Linked DNA regions of Homo sapiens: region 1 is linked to region 2. Evidence: promoter capture Hi-C in human tissues and cell types (Jung and others, 2019). All regions are on one chromosome and are shown on one strand. Each heading gives the region's core, a stretch centred on a gene start or on the middle of the fragment in contact. The rest is flanking DNA. Distances are from core to core; before and after follow the strand shown. Region 1 overlaps TTLL7 (tubulin tyrosine ligase like 7). Region 2 holds the start of GNG5 (G protein subunit gamma 5).

Region 1 (7,204 bases), core at 614-3,113, 520 kb after region 2:
ATACATGTACTTGTATAATATGTTCATTGCAGCACTATTCACAATAGCAAAGACATGAAATCAACCGAGGTGCCATCAGCGGTGGATTGGATAAATAAAATGTGGTACATATACACCATAGAATGCTACGCAGCCATAAAAAGAATGAGATATCTTTTGCAGCAACATGGATGCAGCTGGAGGCCATTATCTTAAGCAAATTAACGCAGGAACAGGTAACCAAATACTGCATGTTCTCACTTATAAGTGGCAGCTAAACATTGGGTACTCATGGACGTAAAGATGACAACAATAGACTCTGGGGATTACTATATGGAGGTAGGAGGGTGAAGAATGTGGGCTGAAAAACTACCAATTGGGTACTATGCTCACTACCTGTGTGATGGAATCAATTATACCCCAAACCTCAGCATCATGCAATATACTCAGGTGACAAACCTGTACATGTACCCCCTGAATCTAAAATAAAAGTTGAAATTATAGAATAAATAAACAAATAGGGTTATTTGATTTTTTCTTGTTGAGTTGTAGTTCTTTATATATTCTAGGTATCAACTCCTTGTCAGATAATATGTTTTGCAAACATTTTCTCATTTTGTACATTGCCTTTTCACTCTGTTGATTGTGTCCCTTGGTGCACAAAAAGTTTAAAGTTGATTTAGACCCATTTGTTTATTTTTGCTTTTGTTGCTTGTGTAGCATTTGTTGTTATTAGCAGTTTTAAAAAAAATCGTTAGAATTGTTTCAAATTGCTGTTTACTAATTCCTTTCCTCCTTATTTAAAGTCCACAGTAGTATTCTTGAGACTATGTAATGATGATACATGCCATAATTATTTTACAAATTGAAATTAATTTCAATGGAATTTGTCTCTGTGGAAGAGCCACTTTAAAAAAATCTATCTAATGTAGAATTTTGTTGTTGTAACTTAACCAAATGTTAATTGAAATTGTGTTAAACCTATACGTTGATTTAGGGAGAATTGCCATCATCACTGCGTTGCTTCTTTCAATCCATGGACATGGCATGTCCCCAGGTGTTTAAGTCTTCATTGATTTCTTTCATCAGGATTTTATATTTTTTTAATTTTTTTTTGTTTTTTCTTTTTTTTTTCCATGTAAACCTTCCTGCACAAATTATAATTTTAATTATGTAAATCTTGCACATGTTATCTTAGATTTATACCTATATTTTAAATTTTCTTTGGAAAATTATACCTGTGTTTTAAATTTTCTTTGGAAAATTATACCTATGTTTTAAATTTTCATTTCCATTTCTTCATTGTCAAGATATAGAAATGCAATTGATTTTTGTGTGTTGATCTTGTGTTCTTCACTTTGAGGGTTTTTTTTAAATGTAGACAATCATGTCATCAGAAAATAGAGACAGTTTTATTTCTTTCCAATCCATATGTCTTCATTTTTCTTGCTTTATTGCAATGGCTGGAACTTCCTGTACTATGTTCAATAAAAGTGGTGAGAGTGGACATCCTTGCCTTCTTCTTCTTCTTCTTTTTTTTTGAGATGGAGTCTTGCTTTGTTGCCCAGGATAGTGTGCAGTGGCACGATCTTGGCTCCCTGCAACCTCTGCCTCCCGGATTCAAGCAATTCTGCTGTCTCAGCCTCTTGAGTAGCTGGGACACAGGTGCATGCCACCACTCCTGGCCAATTTTGTGTTTTTAGTAGGGGATTTCACAATTATTGGTCAGGCTGGTCTCGAACTCCTGACCTCAGGTGATACACCGGCCTCGGCCTCCCAAAGAGCTGGGATTACAGGCGTGAGCCACCATGCCTGGCTGCCTTCTTCTTAATCATAGAAGGAAATCAGTCTTTCACTATTAAATGTAATGCTAATTATGTAGGTTTTTTGTACCTGCTCTTTACGGGGTCAAGAAAGTTTCTCTCTGTCCTTAGTATGCTGAGACATTTTATCCTGAATGAATGTTGGATTACATCAAATACTTTTTTTAGTATCAATTGATATGGATGTATGATTTTTCTTTCTTAGCTTATTGATATGGTAGGTTACATTGATTTATTTTTGAATATTGAATCAGCCTTGCATACATGAAATAAATCTCACTTTGTCATGACAGCACATACTTATACATATATTATACATACACACACATTATACATATACACACATTAGGTACACACACAATATATCCACAAATATTGTTAGATTCAGTTTGCAAAATTTTAAGGATTTTTGCATCTAAGTGAATGAAATATATTGGTCTGTAGTTTCTTTTTCTGGTGCTTCTTTGGTTTTGGTTGTCAGAGTACTATTGATCTCATAAAATGAGTTGGAAAGTGTTTCTTCTTCTATTTTCTGAAAGAGTTTGTTTAAAAATGGTGTTAATTCTTCATTGAGTGTTTGGCAAAATCCCATAATAAAACCACCTTGGTCTGGACATTTCTTTTTCAGGATATTTAATGACAAAATCAGAATTATTTCTTTAGTAGTTATAGAACTATTTAGGTGATCTGTTTTATCTTGCCTGAGATTGGGCAGTTTGTGTTTTTTTAAGAAATTGATTAGTTTTGCTAAGTTGTTGAATTCATAACAGTAAAGTTATTCATAATTTTCCCTTATTATCCTTTTATTGTCTTTAGATTCTGTTGAGATAGGTTTTTTAAAATTTTTGTTTATTTATTTATTTATTTATTTTTAAGAGACAGGCCTTGCTATGTTGCCCAGGTTGGTCTCGAACTCCTGGGCTCAAGCAATCGTCCCCCGTCTTTGTTTCATTTTTGATGTTGGTGACTTGAGTCTTATCTTTTAAAAAATCTGTGATGGTTAATATTAGGTGTCAACTTGGTTGGATTGAAGGATGCCTAGATAGCTGGTAAAGTATTATTTCTAGGGGTGTCTGTGAGGGTACTGCCAGAGGAGATTGACATTTGAGTCAGTGGACTGGTAGAGGAAGACCCACCCTCATTGTGCCAGTGTGGCTAGAACAAAGCAGCCAGAAGAAGGTGGGATAAGCTTTGCTTGCTGAGCCTTCTGGCTGCCTTCTTTCTCCAGCCTTGGATGCTTCCTTCTGCTTCTCCTGCCCTTTGGACCTCAAACTGCAGGTTCTTTGGCCTTTGGACTCTGGGACTTGCACCAGGGAATTGCCAGGGGTTTTTGGGCCTCTGGCCACAGACTGAAGGCTATACTGTCGGCTTCCCTGGTTTGAAGCTTTCGGACTCAGACTGAGCCACTACCAGCTTCTGTCTTCCCCAGCTTACAGGCGGCCTATTGTGGGACTTTGTCTTGTAATCCTGTGAGCCAATTCTCCCTAATAAACTCCCTTATATATGTAGTCATATATCCTACTAGTTCTGTTCCTCTGGAGAACCATGACTAATACAAAATCCTTGTCAGTTTTGCTAGATGTTTATCAATTTTATACATTCTTTTAGAAGACTTTATTTTATTTTATTTTATTTTGGATACAAGGGGTACATATGCAGTTTTGTTACCTGGGTATATTGCATGATGCTGAGGTTTGGAATATGGATAGTCCCATAACCCATTTAGTGAGCATAGTACCCAATCAGTAGTTTTTCAGCCCACGTCCCCCTCCCTCTCTCCCCTCTCTAGTAGTCCCCAGAGTCTACTGTTGCCATCTTTATGTCTGTGAGTACCCCATGTTTAGCTGCCACTTATAAGTGAGAACATGCAGTATTTGGTTTCCTGTTCCTGTGTTAATTTGCTTAGGATAATGGCCTCCAGCTGCATCCATGTTGCTGCAAAAGATATAATCTCATTCTTTTTATGGCTGCATAGCATTCCATGTGTATATGTACCACATTGTATTTATCCAGTCCACTGTTGATGGGCACCTCGGTTGATTTCATGTCTTTGCTATTGTGAATAGTGCTGCAGTGAACATATTATACAAGTGCATGTATCTTTTTGGTAGAACAACTTATTTTCTTTTGGATATATATCCAGTAATGGGATTGCTGGGATGAATGGTAGTTCTGTTTTAAGTTATTTTGAGAAATCTCCAAACTGCCTTCCACAGTGACTGAACTAATTCACATTCCCACCAGCAGTGTATAAGTGTTCTCTTTTCTCTGCAGCCTTGCTGGCATCTGTTGGTTTTTGACTTTTTGTTAGTTGCCATTCTGACTGATGCGAGATGGTATCTCATTGTGGTTTTGATTTGCATTTCTCTGATGATTAGTGATGTTGAGCATTTTTTCATGTTTGTTGGCCACTTGTCCATCTTCTTTTGAGAAGTGTCTGTTCATGTCTTTTGCCCATTTTTTTTTTGAAACAGGGTCTCACTCTGTCACCCAGGGTGGAGTGTAGTGGCACAATCTTGGCTCACTGTAGCCTTGACCTCCTGGGCTGAAGCAGTCCTTCTATCTCAGCCTCCTGAGTAGCTAGGACTAAAGGTGCACACCACCATACTCAGCTAATTTTGTTTATAGTTTGTAGAGATGAAGTCTCATTATATTGCCCTGGCCGGTCTCAAACTCTGGGCTCCAGCTCTCTTCCTGCGTCGGCCTTCCAAATTGCAAGATCACAGGTGTGAGCCACTGCACTCAGCCTTTTGCCCATTTTTTAACAAAATTATTTGTTTTTTGATTTTTCAGCTATTTAAGTTCCTTTCAGATTCTGGATATTATAGCTTTGTCAGATACATGGTTTGCAAATATTTTCTCCCATTCTGTAGGTTGTCTGTTTACTCTGTTGATAGTTTCTTTTGCTGTACAAAAGCTCTTTAGTTTGATGAGATCCCACTTGTCAATTTTTGTTATTGTTGCAGTTGCATTTGGGCACTTAGCCATAAACTCTTTGTCAAAGCCAGTGTTTGCTAGGAAGGGTATTTCCTAGGTTTTCTTCTAGGATTTTTATAGTTTGAGGGGTTACATTTAAATCTTTAATCCATCTTGAGTTAATTTTTGCTTGTGGTGAGAGGTAGTTTGTCCAGTTTCTTGCTTCTGCATGTGGCTAGCCAGTTATTCCAGTGTCATTTATTGAATAGACAGTCTTTTTCTTATTGCTTATTTATTTATTTATTTGTTTTTGAGACAGAGTCTCGTTCTGTCACCAGTCTGGAGTGCAGTGGCGTGATCTCGGCTCACTGCAGCCTCCGCCTCCTGGGTTCAAGGGATTCTCATGCCTCAGCCTCTCGAGTAGCTGGGACTACAGTGTGCGCCACCATGCCCAGTTACGTTTTGTATTTTTAGTAGAGATGGGGTTTCACCATGTTGCCCAGACTAGTCTCGAACTCCTGACCTCAACTGCTCCACCTGCTTTTGCCTCCCAAACTGCTGGGATTACAGGTGTGAGCCCTTATTGCCTGGCCCCTTATTGCTTATTTTTGTCGACTTTGTCAAAGATCAGAGAGGTGTCGCTATGCGGCTTTATTTCTGTGTTCTCTGTTCTGTTCCATTGGTCTTTGTATTTGTTTTTCTACCATTACCATGCTATTTTGTTTACTGCAGCCTTGTACAGTTTGAAGTCTGGTAATGTGATGCCTCCAGCTTTGTCCTTTTTGCTTAGGATTGTTTGGGCTATCAGGGCTCTTTTTTGGTTCTATATGAATTTTCAAATAGTTTTTTTCTACTTCTGTGAAAAATAACATTGGTATTTTGATAGGAATAGCATTGAATCTACAAGTTACTTTGGGCAGTGTGGCCATTTAAATGATTCTGATTCTTTCAATCCAAGGGCATGGAATATTTTTCCATTTTTGTGTTATCTCCGATTTCTTTCAGCAGTGTTTCATAGTTCTCCCTGTAGCGATCTTTCAGTTCTTTTGCTAGATATATTTGTACATATCATTTTTTTTGTGTGTGGCTATTGTAAATGGGATTGTGTTGTTGATTTAGCTATCAGCTAGAACAATATTGGTGTATAGAAAAGCTACTGAAGACTCTTTTTTGTTTCATTTATTTTCACTGTTGTTTTCCTGTTTTCAGTTTCATTGATTTCTTATATTTATATAAGTTTTTTTTCTGTCTACTTTGGATTTTTTTTCTCCCTCTTGCAATTTCTTGAAATAGGAACTTAGATTATTAATTTGAGAGTGTTTCTCTTTTCTAATGTAAGCATTTAGGTGTCTAAATTTCCTTCTCAGCCTGGCTTTAGCTGCATTTGACAGATTCTGTTATGTTTTCTTTTCACTTTTACTCAGTTCTATGTGGTTTCAAAAAAATATGATTCATGGACTATTTAGAAATGTATTGTTTAATTCCAAGTGTTTGAAGATTTTGCTGCTGTTTCTGTTATTGGTTTCTAGTTTAATTCAATCTAGTCAGATAACATACTCTGTATGGTTTAAATTCTTTTAAATATGCTAAGACATGTTTTATGAGCTGTGATATGGTGCATCTTGGTGAGTGCTGTATGGGCACTTGAGAAATTCTTGAGTAGAATGTCTAATGTCAATCATAGCCTACTGGTTGATGGTATTGTTCAGTTTTCCTGTATCCTTGCTGATTTTTAATTTAGTAATCTATTAATTGCTGAGAATGGGGTATTGAAATCCCCAGCTAACTTCGTTGATTTTTTTTTTTTTTTTGTGACAGAGTCTCGCTCTGTCGCCCAGGCTGGAGTGCAGTGGTGCGATCTTGGCTCACTGAAAGCTCCGCCCCCGGGTTCACACCATTCTCCTGCCTCAGCCTCCTGAGTAGCGGGGACTACAGGCGCCCGCCACCATGCCTGGCTAATTTTTTTGCTATTTTTCAGTGGAGACGGGGTTTCACCGTGTTAGCCAGGATGGTCTCGATCTCCTGACCTCATGATCTGCCCGCCTCGGCCTCCCAAAGTGCCGGGATTACAGGCATGAGCCACGGCACCTGGCCTACCTTTGTTGATTTTTAAGCTTTTCAGATCTATTAGTTTTTGCCTTGTGTATTTTGAAGCCATCTTGTTTGGTGGATATACACTTATTATTGTTATATCTTCTTGGTGGATTGAGCTTTTTATAATTTTGCAGTAGCCCTCCTTGGCTCTAGTGATTTTTTTTTGCTTTGAAATTTATTTTATCTGATATTGTTATAGCCACTTCTGCTTTTTAAAAATAAATACTTGCATGATATATCTTTTTCCATAGTTTTATTTTCAATCTATATATGTCATTATGTGTGAAAAGAAGTTTTTATAGATATGTATAGTTGGGTTGCATTTTAAAATTTACTGTGCCAATCTCTCTTTTAAATGATGTGTCTGTACCATTTATGTGTGTAGTTGTTGA
Region 2 (7,791 bases), core at 128-2,627:
AACACACGCTACAAAAAAATAACACCTGGTGTTTGAGACAGCACTCCAGTCTGTGGTTTCCCAATGCAGCAGTTAATAAAAAAGCAACAATTTTTTTTTTTTCTGAAACTGTTTCGGCCTAAAACACTGCTTATTCCTCAACAGTCTCCCTCACAGAAGTAATTATTGGACCATATATTCCCTAAAATCTCTTCCAGCATTAACATACCACGGTTCTAAGAGTTCAGTGATATATTTTACAACTACTGTAAAACAGATCATTCTTTGAATAGATACTTGTGTTTAATCTTACAAATCTGTAAAGTATGAATGACGTTTTAGCATTATACAGTCAACAAAGCACCAAAGGTGAAATAATTACAATACCTTTTGGGAAAAGACAATATTTATTGAGATAGCTTTCACATTCTTTTTACATATAATGTCATTTCATTCCGAAAAACAACTCTACGAAGCTGTATAATTTACTTTGAAATAAGGAAATAAAGCCTCAGTAACTTAAGTGGCTTGCCCAAGAATACCGTAAGTAGCAGAGCCAGAATTCAAACCCTGGTTTTAACCCCAATCATTACATCCGTATGAATTAAGTAAAATGCTAAACTTACGATGTACATTTTTGCGAACTGATATAAACTGTTGAGTAAATAAATTAGATTTTGTTGACCAGTGCAATTACACATGCTTCCCTAATAAAAAATTTGAAATCCATTAATGATAAAATTATTAACATTAATGGAAAACATCAGCGCATTCGGAGATTGACTACCCGAAAAGAAATAGGAAACATCTGCCCTTAGTGCTGTGACATAACACACATATTTCCGTGGATGAAAGAAAGACCTACTGGCTGAGCCTATTTTGTTTGGTTAGACCCTACCCTCTCTCCTAAAAACTCCTTTGGTACTCAATTTCAAGCAGGAGGTAATAAATTACAACGGAAATACTAAAGAGCAAACTTTCCGGAAACACAAAAATAAGTTTTATTTTAAAAAGTACAATAAGCATTAATTCTCCAGAGTAAATGGGTAACCGAGCAGACAGGTGTAATCTTCAGCCAGCACCTTGGCTTCTTCACAATCTCCTTCAGAAAAACCGATTCAAGAGCTAAGAAGCCAGTAAAGTCAAACCTCGAGAAGATCCCTTCTCCAGCGAATCAGCGCCCCTGCTCCCCGCCCGCCCGGCTCCGCTGGGTACGCGACAGCGACCTCCGCGCCTGCTCTCCGCCTCGGGTCAGCGGGGCTGGGGGTTGGGGGTGGAACTGAAAATGCCTGTTGGCCAAACTCGGGTCACAGAGAGACACGCCTGTACGGGGCGGGGGTGTGCGGGTGACTCACGCCGGGTGCACAGTAGCTCCTACGCCTCACCCAGTATCTCCCCTCACTTCCCTCAACCCTTCCCACAAACTGGGAGGAAAACTGAGACCTCCTGGTCACCCGCCGCCGGGCCTTTTAGAAACTCCCACAAGCTCTGCCTTCCCTCCCTGGTCCTCTTCAGACCCCCTCTTAGTTCTTCGCGGCTAACGGTAAGCTCTCTCCTTACCTCTCCCTAATCGGCCCCTCTGGAGAGGAAAAGAAAACTTAAGAGTCGGGTCGCGCTAGCCTCCAGCAGCCGCCGCGCCCACCGACTGCTCCGCCCCTTCTCCTCCCCCTCCTCCAGGCTCGCGCTCGGGGCCGGGTGTGGAGCTGGAACAGAGGGCTGGCAAGGCGCGCATGCGCACCGAGGGTGGAGCCGCTGAGCACAGAACCGGAAACTTAGAGACAAAGTTCGGAGCCCCGCCCCCGCCGCGCGCCGCTGAGTTGTCTGGCCCCGCCGACCCACGGCCCACGACCCACCGACCCACGAATCGGCCCGGCCGTCGCGTGCACCATGTCTGGCTCCTCCAGCGTCGCCGCTATGAAGAAAGTGGTTCAACAGCTCCGGCTGGAGGCCGGACTCAACCGCGTAAAAGTGAGCGGGGGCGGGCGGCCGAGGCGGGAGGAAGGCGGCGGCGGCGGGTGGGATCCGGCGGCCCAGCTGGCGGGGGCGGGCGGGACACGCGCCGGCCCTCGCTTCCCCTGGAGAGGACGCGCGCTCAGCGGCGGCGATCGGGGAGCGGCCAGCTTTAGAGCAGGCGCCGCGTGGGTCTACGCTGTGTTTTAGGGGGACGATTAGTTCGCCCTTCCGCCCCAGGACTTTCCGAGGCGGGCTGGCCCCTGGGTTGAACCGTGGCCGACATTCCGGTCCTCCTCCGTCTCTACCTCCCTTGGCAGCCTTCTCGGCTGGTCTCACCAACAGCTGCGCCTCCGCGCGCTGTCCGCACCCTTCCTTTCCCACTTTGCCAGCCTCCTGTTTCTCATCGGACAGGGTATTTTCCGACTTTTGATTCAGAGCAGACTTTTCTCCCATTTGATCTTTCCCAAACCTACTTCCTTTAGTATTAAATTCTTACCTTCAACTTCTCTTGTCCGTTGAACACATACTTTTAAGCGAATTATTGCATAACTTAAACTGTGGATTGAATAAGCATTTTTCGAAACGATCCTGGAGTGTAAAGTTCCGGTCAGTGCCCCGTACAACCTCGAACAAAGCGTGCATTTCATACCTATGGCACAGTTTGCTCATATTTGACCTTGGGGATATCGACTGGTCCGCATGCCGGAGAAAATGATTATTGTGGGTAATTATTGGTCTTATTTTGGCGTCTGGTTAGTATTGGCCTTGTCTTGGGGTACTTTGGGAGAAAAAGCCTTTTGTCTGTGTTGATAGAATAACTTGACATTCAAGTGCTGTTCTAAGTATTTCCTGATTTTTACAGTCCTAAATGGATTGGCTTCTTTCTGGTACAATAGGTCAGGCTACATGTGAAACACTTCTGCAGTTAAAAAAAGAAACAAGAATGTAAATCATGTGCCCTGTTAAAAGCAGCCAGTTCCTAAGATGATTTGATTTTATACTCATCAGGCTAGTCTTTATTACTTGCCGAAATGTTTTGTGAACTGAGAGGGTCTCTAAGCTTTCTTAACTAGAAGTGTCAGAGACCTAGCTTACTCAGTTGTGGTCACCTCAGAAGGGAAGGGAAATTCTCATTCGTCTTGGTGCAGGATCCTCCTGAGAGAGAGTCTCCCATTTAGTTTTGTTAACTAGAAATGTCAGGGACCTAGCTTACTCAGTTGTGGTCAACTCAGAAGGGAAGGGAATTCTCATTCGTCTTGGTGTGGGATCCCCCTCACGTCCAGTCCTTGAAATGCTGTAGACCTCACTGCAGTTTGGAATCCATTTCTCTACTCTCCCAATTCTTACCTCATCACAGTGGTTTCTAGTCAGTCTTGGCTGGATTTGGCTCTGAAACTCGAAATCATTTATTTCGTAACCATTAAATGTCATTCAGGTGTGCCTTTATCATAGATAGGATGGACCAAGAAAAAAAAATGGGGGTGGGATAGTGAAAGCAATAAATTGTACATCTTTAGTCTCCAAAGAAAATGACATGAGGTTCTCAGGCTAAAATACTCCAAGAGCTTTACTTTGAAAACCCTAGCTGCTGCTCCCCTAATTCCCCAAAACTGATCCTACCTAAATCTTCAGTAGACTTCTGGTTCTGGTCGGGATCATTAAAGGCACCAGACATGATTTGGTTTTGGAGTTATTGCCTGATGTTAAGGCTGTAGCAAGAAGGGGAGCATCCCCTTTTGTACTTTTTAATGAGCTTTTCTTTAGACATGTTGCTAAATGTGGTTTAACGTTGTGTATCTGTTTTATCAATGACTGGGCTAGGTGATTTTTTTGTGAGATTTTTAAACTAGCACAATCTTACTTTTAACCTTTATGTGTGAGTACAATTGATAGAACTTACCATAAGTGCTTGACAAACTGTCATAGGTAGGTCAGGACATTTTTGAGAGTGAGAAGGGGCACTAATAGGCCAGGATTACAGGGTTTCAACCTCCTGGATGGTGATTGTTACAGTGCCTTAGGGGCTAGCAGCTTGTTCCAGTTTTAGAGTCTTTGTCTCAGCTTTCCTCACTGTTTGGAATGCTGTTTCTCACTGATGGTTATTTGGCTGGATCTCTTGTCATTGAGATCTCAGCTTCAATGTCACCTCAGACACCTTCCCTTAGGTGGGCACCCAGTCACCATCTAAAAGATTATTCATTTTACTACAGAGCACCTTGTCTGTCATTTTCTCTGAACTGTTAGCTCCATAACAACAGGGCTCTGGCTGTTCTTATGTATTCTTAGTGCCTGTAAGTATATGCGGCACATAGTGGTGCTTGAAAATTGTGAAAGCGAGTTACATTGGACCCCACCTACACTTTAAACAGAAAATTAACAGGTACTCTTTATGCTTCCTGCTGGTTAATATGAATGAAAACACTAAACACTATTACAATATTTGGTGAAAAATGACACCATTGTTCCCCTACTTTAGCTACACTTCTTTTGGAAGGCGGGGGATGAGGGGGTGTAGTCATTTGTAAAAATACTTCTTTTACATAGGAGCTAATAAACCTATGGAACTCATTACTCTGGACTGCTGTATAAGCAAAACACACAAATAGATTCGATAAGCGTTTAGATTCATCTTAGGATGAAGAATTATTAGGTTGGAGGTACAGCTGTAATCTGCAGGGGTTCTTGGTATAGAGAGCATTTGTGATGCTATTAATTCCCTGAGGCCACATATCCAGCTGGATGGACTGGACACCTGCTCCCAGCCTCCTTGCGGATAAAGACTGAGAATAAAATAAATGAGTATTTCTCCCACTTTTTAAATCTCAGTTCAAGACTTCAGATATTAGATGCATTTGGGGCATGTTTTAGTCATTCATGTTCCACGTCTGAACGGGTCCGTTAATGTTATTAAACTAGACAGTGACAGATTTCTGCCCAGTGTCACGTGACTGAAAGGCTGCTAGCAAACTTCAATTTAACAGTTTTTCTGAGCAGCCTGCCTTTAAGAAACTATTGCCTTAAATATGATTTAAGTGTTAATATACATATACAGAGCCACCCAAACAGGACTTAAGGAACTTCAATGGCTTTATGGTTATTTTGTTTATATCCTACATCACCTTAGCAGAATATATAGAAATAGTAGATGTCTAAGTGAATGAATGCATGCCTCTTTTAATTTGTTTTAGTTTAAATGCAAGACAGTATAAGGGTCTGATAAATTTGAGGATCAGTATACTGAATGCATTCTTAGTGTTGGCTTTTCTAAATTATGTGCTAGTTATCCCACATTATGTTCATTCACAGTAGCATTTTTCCAGTAATACTGCTTTCAAGACAAAGTAATAGTTTGCTAGAATGTTATTGCTTTTTGTTTAACCCTTAATGTTTTTAATAAGATGTTAAGTACCCTCAGGTTTGCACTTGAACAGCCTATTATTAATAAGCAAGATGTGCTACGCTTTGCAAAAATCAACATAATTCTACTGTTTGTACTCAGTCATCTGATGCTTCTAGTAACCAAGCAAAAGAAAACATACTTAATTAAATCAGTCTTATTTGCAAGCACTAGTTTTAAGTATTAAGAGCTCACTAGGCTGGGCGTGGTGGCTCACACCTGTAATCTCAGCACTTTGGGAGGCCGAGGTGGGCGGATCACGAGGTCAAGAGAGAGAGACCATCCTGGCCAACACGGTGAAACCCCGTCTCTACTAAAAATAGAAAAACTAGCTGGGCGTGGTGACGTGCGCCTGTAGTCCCAGCTACTCAGGAGGCTGAGGCAGGAGAATCGCTTGAACCGAGGCGGAGGTTGCAGTGAGCCGAGATCGCACCACTGTACTCCAGCCTGGCAACAGAGTGAGACTCCGTCTCAAAAAAAAAAAAAAAAAAAAAAAGAGCTCACTATTTGACTTAAGTCTTCAATTATTATATAGTATCTTCTTTTGAAGCAAGAGAAGTACTGTTTTATTGTAAGTACAATATTTCCAAAGATTGAGAAAACCTTCATTAAAATGTTCTCACCATCTGGCACTTCCCCCCCTCTTTGTTATGTATAGGTTTCCCAGGCAGCTGCAGACTTGAAACAGTTCTGTCTGCAGAATGCTCAACATGACCCTCTGCTGACTGGAGTATCTTCAAGTACAAATCCCTTCAGACCCCAGAAAGTCTGTTCCTTTTTGTAGTAAAATGAATCTTTCAAAGGTAAGTTTCCTTAAATTTAAAACAAAAACCCACACTGTAGGAATAACTAGTCTTCTCTTTCTTTGCAGCACTTAAAAGATCATCCCATGCCCTTTCCTTTGGCCCTCCATTTCCAGTATTTTTCTGTTTTGCAAGGAAAGTGAGGATTCATGAAACTTGCTGACTTAGTAGCCATGAAGGCTAATCGTTTCTATTTTACCATAAAGAAGGTTAAGTAGAGGATTTAATAACCATAAAGAGGGTATAGGAGAGTTACTACAAAATCCCACTGCCGTAACAAGCCATGTGTTACTTTTTAGAGCATTGGCCTAATGGAGTCCCCAAGTACTAGTTTTGTTTTTGTGTACCTGGCAAATATTTAGACAGTTTTTAAAAAATCTGCAATGTTTATGGGGATAACTTAAAGTACTACCAACTGATTTGGATTAACTCTTGATGTTATTGCTCTAACTGAACCCAGCTGTAGAGCAGTATAGCAAAGATTGGGAATTGGAAATGCAAGAGAAAGTCAGATGTAATTGAGTAAGCCAGTGTGGTAGAGGCGTTTGGACTGAGGTAGAACAGACTTTATATTTTGTTCTCATTTGTTAGATTAAAGATAAAACATGAAGGAAATGCAGTATATAAGTTCTTGGTGGCAAACAGACAGTGGACTGAATTTCAGAGAATTAAAAACTAAAGACCCTGTTGGCTTTATTAAAGCATGCTTCAGTACATTAATTTGTGCCTTCCAGATCAAATGTCATGTGTACAAAATGTATGTTAATCTAAGAGATGTGACCAAAAACGTTTTGGATCATTTAAAATGTAACTGAAGGGTGCTGCCTTTTATAAATTCTTAGTACTTTAGTTAGGGAATGTACTCATTAGTATTGACCTATGAGAAGCAAACTTAAACTAATAGTACTTTTTTAAAAAAGATTTTGTATATGGCACACACCCCTTACTAACTTTCTGACTTCTCCAAAGTCCAGGAAGCTGCTTCCTAAAATACCTTGTTACATAGTTGTGCCCTCCTTAATTAAGCTTCCTAGACCTGGGAGTGTCCAGGAAGTCTGTATAAGTACATGTTTCCAGTAAATACAATGATTGGTTAAGATGTTTAAGTTTTTTGAAATACCAGGGGGAAAAAAAGCCCTTTGAAAACAGGTGTCATGTGCACAAAAATGCACATGAAGAAGTAATTCACTTTCATATTTAACAGTTTATTATAATATCCTTTGTTTCTGGTACTATTCATTTAATTCTTCATGGTAGTTTTTGGAAGTTTCATATTTTTATGGTTTATTAATGATTGTTTTTTTAACCTCAGTTCTTGTATTCACTTTACAGTGGTTTATTTTCATTTGAATAAAATACTGGGCAGCTGTTAATAGTTTTACTTCATAGGAATCTACAGATAAGTGTTTAAATGAATTGCTCAAGTTTAAAAATATGGCTGGGGGTAAGAACCCAGAAGGTAAAATAATGTCTATTAATCCCAGCAGTATAAGAAAACAGCTTTGTGGATATTAAGATTTGCAGCAGTTTGGGCTAGGAGAATAATAATTGGGCATCAAAGCATTGCTTCTCAAGCTTGAATATATGCAAATCACTTTGTTAAAATGCAAATTCTAATTCAGAAGGTCTGAGGTGAGTCCCTAGAACTTGCATTTCTTA

The links. The method cuts DNA at HindIII sites, captures the fragments that hold promoters and counts their contacts. A contact is called where the count stands out against the background at its distance.
Region 1: a contact is called between a fragment that was not itself captured here and the fragment with the promoter of GNG5 in region 2, in 1 of the 25 tissues and cell types used here (hippocampus).

Annotation. Positions count from the first base shown.
Region 1 is chr1:83,981,156-83,988,359 of GRCh38, reverse strand. The region is part of intron 1 of TTLL7 (tubulin tyrosine ligase like 7); the gene reads left to right. It overlaps TTLL7-IT1 (TTLL7 intronic transcript 1), which reads left to right and starts at 4,060. Exons shown (of 2, transcript NR_046841.1): 1 at 4,060-4,528; 2 at 6,791-7,204. The HindIII fragment of the contact is 6,292 bases long and covers 1-5,009 here.
Region 2 is chr1:84,500,167-84,507,957 of GRCh38, reverse strand. GNG5 (G protein subunit gamma 5) reads left to right here and starts at 1,377. Exons shown (of 4, transcript NM_005274.3): 1 at 1,377-1,522; 2 at 1,657-1,947; 3 at 5,988-6,132. The coding sequence starts at 1,867. The coding sequence ends at 6,113. It overlaps SPATA1 (spermatogenesis associated 1), which reads right to left and starts at 1,572. Exons shown (of 14, transcript NM_001397487.1): 1 at 1,540-1,572. RefSeq lists silencers at 1,652-1,731, 1,982-2,111 and an enhancer at 3,771-4,276. The HindIII fragment of the contact is 15,510 bases long and covers 1-5,075 here.